Linked DNA regions of Homo sapiens: region 1 is linked to region 2. Evidence: promoter capture Hi-C in human tissues and cell types (Jung and others, 2019). All regions are on one chromosome and are shown on one strand. The core of a region is centred on a gene start or on the middle of the fragment in contact, and the rest is flanking DNA. Distances in the headings are between cores, read along the strand shown.

Evidence for each region. The method cuts DNA at HindIII sites, captures the fragments that hold promoters and counts their contacts. A contact is called where the count stands out against the background at its distance.
Region 1: a fragment that was not itself captured here is called in contact with the fragment with the promoter of CAMKK2 in region 2 in 1 of the 25 tissues and cell types used here (spleen).

Annotation. Positions count from the first base shown.
Region 1 is chr12:121,715,448-121,720,602 of GRCh38, forward strand. The region is part of intron 1 of TMEM120B (transmembrane protein 120B); the gene reads left to right. Among named protein-coding and RNA genes, the nearest start is that of TMEM120B, 5.3 kb to the left of the region's middle. The HindIII fragment of the contact is 4,558 bases long and covers 1-4,485 here.
Region 2 is chr12:121,293,415-121,298,327 of GRCh38, forward strand. It overlaps CAMKK2 (calcium/calmodulin dependent protein kinase kinase 2), which reads right to left and starts at 3,295. Exons shown (of 17, transcript NM_001270485.2): 1 at 3,224-3,295. RefSeq lists a silencer at 2,831-3,980. The HindIII fragment of the contact is 15,221 bases long and covers 1-4,913 here.

The sequences.
Region 1 (5,155 bases), core at 957-3,456, 420 kb after region 2:
CTCTTTCTTAGGACTTGGTCCTCAGATGCTGAGGTATGTTAGGGACAAAGGGATTGGGAATCAATTCTTGATTTTGTTCCCTGGTGCACAGCAAGGGTTGTAGAAGAAGGTCTGAGTGAGTGGAAACTGATGCCTCCTGCTCGGTTCATGATGGGGGAACTAGAAGGGACTGCATCCTACTTTGGGGAAGAGGGAGCCTGCTTGCTGCAGGCTTTGGTGGTCACCTGCTGGGTCAGGGGCCAGTCAGGGATGGCTCCCGGTGTCAAGATCATAGATCGGAGCAGAAACTGCCATCTACATCTTCAATTCACAGATGAGGAAACTGAAGCTTGGGCATGCTGATTCCCTGGACGGGGGCCACACAGCTAGTTAGTGGTAAAGTTGGGGCCATAATTTAGTTCTCTAAATATTGGTAGGCCCCTCTCTGCCTTCTCACGTTCCCCTTCATGTTAGATGTGAGAGCTCTGAACTCTCAAGATGCAAGGCTCTGGGACTCTGTATATGGTAAGTAGGATGTCCATTGCGTATGTGCTGGGCAGTTTCGGATACGAGATATTTGTTGGGAGCTCGGTGCATTGGCTCATACCTGTAATCTCAGCACTTTGGGAGGACAAGTTGGGAGGACCGCTCCCAGCAGGATTGCCCAGCAGTTTGAGACCAGCCTGGGAAACATAGGGAAACCCCTGTCTCTACAAACAGTAAAAAAAAAAAATTGCTGGGTGTGGTGGTGCATGGTTGTGGTCCCAGCTACTAGGGAGGCTGGAGTAGGAGGGCTGTTTGAGCCCCAGAGGTCAAGGCTGCAGTGAGCCATGATTGCACCACTGTACTCTAGCCTGGGTGACAGAGTTAGACCCTCTCTCTCAAAAAAAAAAAAAAAGAGATTTGTTGGGGAACAAGCAGGTAACAGCAGGTAGGTAGGTGGGCACACTGAACTAGAAAGCTTAACAATAGGAAGGATTTTTTTTCTACTAGAAAATCCTGGTCTATTTTAATTTTCCTACATCTTCCTTAGAATCCGGGTTGAGGGTTTCATATTTGTATCTCATTGATTCTGGGGTGATGTGTAACAATGTGTAATGTCTCTGTGTCTTACCTCTTTTTCTCTTTTTTTTTCTTTCTTTTTTTTTTTTTTTGAGACACAGTCTTGCTCTGTCGCCCAAACTAGAGTACAGTGGCACAATCTTGGCTCACTGCAACCTTTGCCTCCCGGGTTAAAGCTATTCTCCTGCCTCAGCCTCCTGAGTAGCTGGGATTACAGGCACCCGCCACCGTGCCCGGCTAATTTTTATATTTTTAGCAGAGACAGGGTTTCACCATCTTGGCCAGTCTGGTCTAGAACTCCTGACCTCGTGATCCATCTGCCTTGGCCTCCCAAAGTGCTGGGATTACAGGCGTGAGCCACTGCACCTGGCTTTCCTTTTTTGAATGAAGGAAAGAAAGAGCAAACCTAATTCTCAGACCCCAGAAGATTTGAAAGATCTTTGGAATTTCCCTCCTCCCCACCCCAAGAAAACCCAATGTAATCTCTGGGACTGAGGAGAGGAAAGGATCAGTTTTCTTTGGACTGTGATTTGCATGTGTCAGGGCCTTCCTGAACCCTGGGGCACAGTTGAGTCTCCATGAGGACTTAGTTTTTGGGTGGCTGGGGTTTCAGGCATGCTGGTGAGTTGAGTGCTAGTCTGAGACCAGTGTGCTCCTGGTCTCCTGGCCTGTGGCGTGACCGCAGAAGGTCACTTACAGACACAAGGGCAAGTAATTTAATGAGCATTTCCTGCCTTGCATCACTGGAAACCTGATCTCGTTCCTCCCAGCCAAGGAAGAAGGTGGCCCGTAGCAGCTTTTCCCTAAGTCTGACCTCACAGTGATGCAAGGGCCTTGAAGGCCATGGTAAAGATTTTGGCTTTTACTGCTAATGACATGTACATCCGTCTGGCTGCTGTGTATAGAATAGACATCAGGGAGACAGGCTCGAAGCAAGAAGATCAGCATTATTTCATTAATAACCCTATGAAATTGATCCTAGAATCTCTGTTTTACAGAGGTTAAGTCACTTATCCAAGGTCACATGGCCTGTCAGTGCAGGAGCCAGGATTCGAACCCAGGCTGTTGAACACCAGTGTCTGTGCTCTTAACTACTGCCCTAGGCTCATCTGTGCCCTGAGTACTCCTGTTAGCTTTTGTTTCTCTTCTATCTTGGCTTGTGGGGCGTCTTTCTTTCTTTTTTATTTGAGACGGAGTCTCGCTCTGTTGCCCAGGCTGGAGTGCAGTGGCTCGATCTCAGCTCACCACAACCTCCGCCTTCCAGGTTCAAGCGATTCTCCTGCCTCAGCCTCCCGAGTAGCTGGGATTACAGATGTGTGCCACCACTCCTGGCTAATTTTTGTATTTTTAGTAGAGACAGGGTTTCACTATGTTGGCCAGGCTGGTCTCGAATTCCTGACCTTGTGATCCGCCTGCCTCAGCCTCCCAAAGTGCTGGGATTACAAGCGTGAGCTACCGCACCCAGCCGGGCATCTTTCTTTAGTAGCAGATTGTGCAGAAAAAGACACTGCACAGGGAATCAGTATTCTTGAGTTCAGGTCCTAGCTTTGCCATTGTCTAGTATCTGAATTTGGTGAGCCACCTCTCTCAGGTTGAGTTTCTTTATCTAAAAACAAAGGCTGACAATAATAATAATCATAACAACAACAATAACAATAATAGCTAACTGCGTGAAACACAGATTATCCCATTTAATCTAAATATCAACCCATGGCCTGGCGCAGTGGCCCATGCCTGTAATCCCAGCACTTTGGGAGGCTAAGGAGGGCAGAGCACTTTGAGCTTAGGTGTTCAAGACCAGCCTGGGCAACATGGTGAAACCCCATCACTATAAAACAAACAAACAAACAAAAAACAAAAAAAAACCTTAGCTGGGCATTGGTCGCTCGCTCCTGTAATCCCAGCTACTTGGGAGGCTGAGGCTGAAGAATCGCTTGAACCCAGAAGGCGGAGGTTGCAGTGAGCCAAGATCGTGCCAGGGTACTCCAGCCTGGGTGACAGAGTGAGATCCTGTCTCAAAAATAAATGAATGAGTGAATGAATGAATGACAACCCTGTTTTTTAGATGAGGAGATTGAAGCTAAGAGATGCTGAGTAACTTGAAAGTCATGGAGCCAGAATTCGAACCCATGCCTGCTGTATAACTCAGATACTAATACCGTGGGCTCCAAAAGTATCCTGAGACTCTTAGCTCTAGAAGAAAAGTTTTGAACTTGCTGGGTCCCTTTTCATTTATATAGTGCTTTCACACAATGCACTATCAGGACTCTTAGTTGCAAATGAAAAAAACCCAGTCTGACTGGTTTTAAGCCAAAAGAGGGTTTATTGAGTCAAGTCTAGTGGCAAATGGCTTCAGGCAAGGCTGGATCCAGGAGCTCAGGTGATGTCTGTGTCTGTGTGTGGATGTCTCTCTCTCTCTCCTCTGTGTCAGCATTATTCTCAGGCAGTCCCTCCCATGTTGTGGCAAAGATGGCCAGGTGGCCCTCAGCTGACATCTGTCAGCTTAGCAGCTCTGGCAGAAACAGAGCATCCTTTCCCCCTGTGGTTTCAGCAAGCGTCCCAGGGCTGACTCTCATTGGCCCAGCTTGGGTCATGTGACTATGCCTTACTTAACCAGTCACTGTGGCACTGATTGGCCAGGTCACGGTCACATATCTGCTCCTGAAGCCTAAAAGTGGGATCAGTGCCACCACACTACATGAAACGAGTTGGGGAGGGATGGTCCCATGAAGGAAAATCAAAAAGCTGGTAGTTTAAAAAAAAAAAACAGAGAGAGGGATGCTGGACAGGCACCTTTTGGGGGGCTAATAGAAATTGTTGGCTGGGTGTAGTGGCCTATGCCTGTAATCCCAACAGGAGGCTGAGGCAGGTAGATCGCTTGAGCCCAGGAGTTTGAGACCAGCCTGGGCAATGTAGTAAGACCCTGACTCTACAAAAAACCACAAAAATTAGCTAGGCATGGTGGCGTGCACCCATGGTCCCACCTACTTGGGAGGCTGAAGTGGGAGGATTACCTAAGTTCAGGAAGTGGAGGTTGCAGTAAGCTGAGATCCTGCCACTGCACCCCAGCCTGGGTGACAGAGTGAGACCCTGTCTCAAAAAATGTTTTTTTCTTCAAGGGAAACAGTGGCATCGATTGGACACTGCTTAAATTGCTAACGGGGGTAGTTTAAGGGGGTGGTTCACAGTTGCATGTTAGGCCACACTGCATTCTTTTTTTTTTGAGACGGAGTTTTGCTCTTGTTGTCCAGGCTGGAGTACAATGGCTCTGTCTCGGCTCACTGCAACCTCTGCCTCTCGGGTTCAAGTGATTCTCCTGCCTCAGCCTCCTGAGTAGCTGTAGCTAGGACTACAGGCACATGCCACCACACCTGGCTAATTTTTGTATTTTTAGTAGAGACAGGGTTTCACCATGTTGGCCAGCTGGTCTCGAACTCCTGACCTCAGGTGATCTGCCCACCTCGGCCTCCCAGAGTGCTGGGATTATAGGCATGAGCCACCTTGCCCGGCCCACACTACATTCTTGATGATGTCACATCTTTGTGACAGTGCCTAGCCTGCTGCATGCACCTCATCTCCTAGCTCTTTCACAGCTGATGACACCGAGGCACAGAGGGATTACATAACTCAGCTAATAAGTGGCAGGCTCTGGATCTGAACTCGGGCAACTTGATGGCAGCATCAAATCACTTAACCATTGTGTTTTCATGCCACCCAAATGCGTGCCTCCCACGCACAGACCCCCACTTACCGCTCCCGTAACATACCGTTCATGGATTCTGACACATGACTCAGAATCTGTCCCGCACAGGACGCATACACGTTAGGCGAAGTCATCCTTGGTGGTGTTTCTATGGTGATGAGTCCTGGTTAAGTATAGTCAGCGTCTGAAAGTCTATTTGAAGTTGATTTCTTAGAGCTATATAAAAGTAATCTCTTGTCCAGGCACAGTGGCTCATGCCTGTAATCCCAGCACCTTGGGAGGCCAAGATAGGCAGGTCATTTGAGCTCAGGAGTTTGAGACCAGCCTAGGCAACATGGCAAAACCCCTGTCTCTACAAAAAATACAAAAATTAGCCAGGCATGGTGGCACAGGCCTGTAGTTTCAGCTACT
Region 2 (4,913 bases), core at 2,045-4,544:
TGCTGGGGCGGGAAGAAGATCACAGGTGACCCTGAGCAAATTACTCAGCCTCTCTGAGCCCTTCATATAAAGAGGCTTCCATAAAATGAGTTGATAGAATAATGGTGATTCTGTGGCCCATGTTAAAATTTGAGCCAAAATGCCTTGAAAACAGGCTTGGCCTGCCCCACTTGGCCTGGTCCTCTCCCCTGAGAGTGGTGTCTGGCCACTCATCTTCCATCTAGGATGAGGTTCTCAAAGAGGAAACCCCCGGCTACTGCACAAAGTTCCCTGCTAGGTCACCCCACCCTATCCCCTTCCCCTCCTACTCCCATCCCATCTCCCATTTCTGGCCCATCCTTCAAGGCTCTGCACAAATGACACCTCCTTCAGGGAGCCTCCCAGATTCACACCAGTCTGAGGAGATTTCTCCAGAACCCTCAGTGCCCTGTGCTCCTTCGATCACAACAGCACTCATTCCTTGTGGTGTTTCTCAACAGTGGCACTGCTGGCATTTGGGGGAGGGTGATTTTTTTTTGTTTTTTGTTTGTTTTTTGAGAGGAAGTCTCCTTCTTGTGCCCCACGCTGGAGTGCAATGGCACGATCTCAGCACACTGCAACCTCCGCCTTCCAGGTTCAAGTGATTCTCCTGCCTCAGCCTCCCAAGTAGCTGGGATTACAGGTGTGTGCCACCACGCCCAGCTAATTTTTGTATTTTTAGTAGAGATGGGGTTTCACCATGTTGGCCAGGCTGGTCTCGAACTCCTGACCTCAGGTGATCCTCCTGCCTCGGCCTCCCAAAGTGCTGGGATTACAAGCGTGAGCCACCACGCCCAGCCAGGGGAGGGTGATTCTTTATGTCGTGGCCCTGGCCTGCCTACAGGACACTTTAGTAGGCATCCCTGACTCCCGCCCACTAAAAGCCAGGAGTGCTTAGCATCATTTTGACAACCAAAAGTCGCCCCCACACTTTCCCAAATCCCTGCCAGGAGGGTGGGACCACCCCCGGATGAGAACTAGTGCATTGTTATTAGTGACTATATTTAGCTACCAGCCCACTAGCCATATCTAAGGATGGGCAGTACTACAGACCCTGCATAGAGCTGCATCGGCAAACACTGATGTAGTGAATAAACAAAACAAAACAAACTCCTGGGCTCCTCAAGAAGCTCAGGGCAGCCTTGCCAGGGTCTCTGCTCTTGAACAGGTGCACAAAGGTTCTAAGGCCTGACATGCCTGCACTGGCTGTGTGACCCTGAGCAAGTTACTTAACTTCTCTGAGCCCTTCTATAAAATGGGGCTAAATCCTAGCAACACTGCAGGATTTCTGTAAACCTCAGTCTCCTAATCTCTACTATGGGGTTAAAATTCCCTACGTTGTAGGATTTGGTAGGCATTAAATGAGATAATGCATGTAACACATAGCACAGAATCTGGCAGGCAGCAAGAACTCAATAGATGTTAGTTTTTAATACTGTTATTATTATTATTGTCCAGGGCCAGGTGGCAGCTCATGCCTGTAATCCTAGCACTTGGGAGACTGACGTAGGCGGATCACTTGAGGTAAGGAGTTCAAGACCAGCCTGACCAACATGGTGAAACCCCTTCTCTACTAAAAATACAGAAATTAGCCAGGCATGGTGGTGGGCGCCTGTAATCCCAGCTACTGGAGAGGCTGAGGCATGAGAATCGCTTGAACCCGGGAGGCGGAGGTTGCAGTGAGCCAAGATTGTGCCACTGCACTCCACCCTGGGCAACAGAGACTCCGTCTCAAAATAAATAAATAAGTATTCTTATTATTATCCAAGTTAGGGGCTCATCAAATGATGGCTATTACTCTTCATTACAAAAATATGTTTTGCGTCCTCATCACCAATGCCTGCTTCCTCCATAGGAAGGGTGTGTGTCACCAATGCCTGCTTCCTCCATAGGAAGGGTGTATGAGCAGCAGTCTGGAAGGGGTATGTGGGGCTTGCCCTAAAGCTGCATTTGCATGGCATGCACACTATTTATTCTGAAACTGCATGTTTTTGTGGGGTGATTAGGGAAGAGGGTGGCTAACTCCCCCAAAGCCCTCCCCTTGTTGCAGCCCCCGCCTCCTCCAAGGAACAAAGGAGCTTATGGGGACATAAAGCCATCCTCTTCTCTCTCCTCTGGGGGCAGAGCTAGGGGAGGGGGAGTGGTAAATGGCAGCACAGCTCTAGGGCACCTGAAGTTTCTATCCCCTGCGTGGAGACTCCAAACACCAGGCTGGGGAAGGTAAAAGTAGCCTGTAGGGAGATGGACGCTGCAGGTCCCATCCGGAGGCCAGGTATCCCTCTCTTGCTGATAGCACTGAGACGCCCTCCCCAAAGCTCAGCCTTCTCGGGGAGATCGGAGGGGCTGAGCTGCATCCTGTCCAGCACTAAGTGAGAGTGGCCAGGAGGGCAGGCTGGCAGAGCTGTGAAAGCACCCACTTCCCCAGCTAGGCAGTGCAGGGGCTGGGGGAAAGCCAGGAAAAGCTCAAGGCTGGGTCGGGTGGCACCCCAGGCACAGAGCCCCAATGCTGAGAGGGGCTGGGTCCAGTGTCCCTGAGAGTCAGGCGGACGCCTCTCCGCATTCACAGCATACTGCAACCCCGAGGTGAATTTAGGTCAGAAGGACCAAGCCTGTGAGGCTCCGGCTGAGAGAAGAGGTGCGGTGGGGGTGGTCAAAGGGCAGACCGAAGACAGCCAAAGGTCCCCTAGGTCCCCACAACTGCTGGCCTAGGGTCCTGCCACCTGGTGTCCAAGCCACCAGGGCCTGGGTTTGCCCCGAGACAGGCAGGCTGCGGGGTGGGGGTGCTCCAAGTCCGCTGGTCCTCTCTTCCCCGGAACGCTCCAGATTTCCCCACCTGTCAAACGCGAGGGGCTGGGCCTAGGCCGCCTCCACGAACCCTGACGGACCCGGCCCCCGGTGACCCCGGTTCCAAACTCCAGGACCGCCCCTGCCACCCGGACAGGGCGCGGCCCAGCCGAGGAGGCCATCCCGAGGCCCAGGGCGCCCAGAGGACGCGGGGGAAGGGCTGTCGGGGACCGTGTCCCTCCACGTGGCGGGGCGTGGGGAGGCGCACGTGGGGTCCCTCCGTGTTGGGAGCCCCAGGCCAGCCTCCGGGCTTTGTGTGCCATGCCGGCGGCGGTCCCCCGCCTCGAGAGGGAAACGGAGCGGGCGCCCGGGGCCGCGGCGGCTGCGTCCCTTGCCCCGGGCCCGGCTACCGCCAGCTCACCTGGGCTCCGCGCCGCCGCCGCCTCCCGCGCTCTGCGCCCCCAGCTCGGCTCGGCTCGGCTCAGCTTGCTCTGCGCGGCCGCGCGCTCCTCTCCTCCGCCCGGGCGGCGGGCGCGCGGGGGGCGGGGGCGGGAGGAGCCGCCCGGCTCGGCTTGGGCGCGTCGCCGCCCCGGGCAGCGCGGGGATTGGCCACGGCGGCGGGAAACCCGAAAGCGGAACCGCCCGCGCCCGCCGCGCACCGCCCCCTGCGCGCCCCCGCCGGCTCGGCCCTGCGCCGGGGAGGGGTGGGGAGGCGGGAGCCTGCAAAGACGAAAGTAGCGAAGAGGCGAAGGGCAAGGAGCAGAAAGGGAGGAGGCGAAGAACGGGGGAAGAGAGGCCCGGCCGGGAGGATCGGAGGCGGCTGGGAGGAGAGCCTGGAGGGGCGCGGAGCGCAGGAGGTGGCGCCGCAACTTTGTACCCGCTCGCCCGCGGCGCGCACCTGCCCAGGTTCTTCCCGCGGCGCCCTCGGGCGGGCCGCGCCGGCAGCGCTTGCTTTGTTTAGCCAAATGCCGGGGCTGCAGGGCGCCTCCGGGCTGACCCTGGGAAAGTTCCCCCAAGCCGGCAAGAACACCCGGGGCCCCTCCTGTGGCGACCCGGCTGCTGCCCCTGCGCTAGGCGCCGGGCGGTGGATGCGGCCTGGACTTTGGGCCACCACCGACTCGGGGGAGCCCCCTTCCGCAGCTGCCTGCCGACTGACCACTTGCTCAGGGCCGGCCCTAAAGGCTGGGGGAAGGCGTTCCTCTCCCATCCCCAGCCCACCTGGATGCACCATTGAAGTTCATTCTGGCTTTTCCAGATGGCTACTTAGATGCTTTTTGTGAAATACAGCATATTCTTCCCATTCTCCCCTTTTTGGCACTTACTTTGCTGGAGCCTTAAGTGTGCGTTGGATCCCCCAGCTGGATAACAGCACTGTGCGGGGAAGAGGAGAAACGAAGACCTGGAGGGCTCCCTGAACCGTCCTACGGGGTCGAGCGACCCAGGGGATGTCTCACTGACCCTGCCAAACAGCCAAAAGGGAATCGAGTTGACAGGAGAGTCAACCTCCAAGTTAATAAAAGGTTCAAAGCCCTCTAGTTAACTGGGTGGATTTCCAGCCCGTTCCGATGTGCTTCTCTTGTATTTCTAGGCCGTAGGGACACTCACATGCAACGAGCCAATGAGAGCTCCACCCCGACTCCCTTTTTTTTTTTTTTTTTTTTCTTTTCTGAAACGGAGTCTCGCTCTGTCGCCCACGCTGGAGTGCAGTGACGCGATCTCGGATCACTGCAACCTCTGCCTCCCAGGTTCAAGCAGTTCTCTGCCTCAGTCTCCCGAGTAGCTGGGATTACAGGCGCCGGCCACCATACTTGGCTAATTTTTGTATTTTTCGTAGAGATGGGGTTTCACCATGTTGTCCAGGCTAATCTTGAATTCCTGACCTCGTGATCCACCCGCCTTGGCCTCCGAAAGTGCTGGGATTACAGGTGTGAGTCACCGCGCCCGGCCCACTCCCATTTTTTTTTCTTTGTTTTTTTTGTTTGTTTGTTTGTTTGTTTGTTTGTTTGTTTTGAGACAGGGTCTCTCTGTGTTGCCCAGGCTGGAGTGCAGTAGCACGATCACGGCTCGCTGCACCCTCGACCTCCCCAGGCTCAGGTGATCCTCCAGCCTCA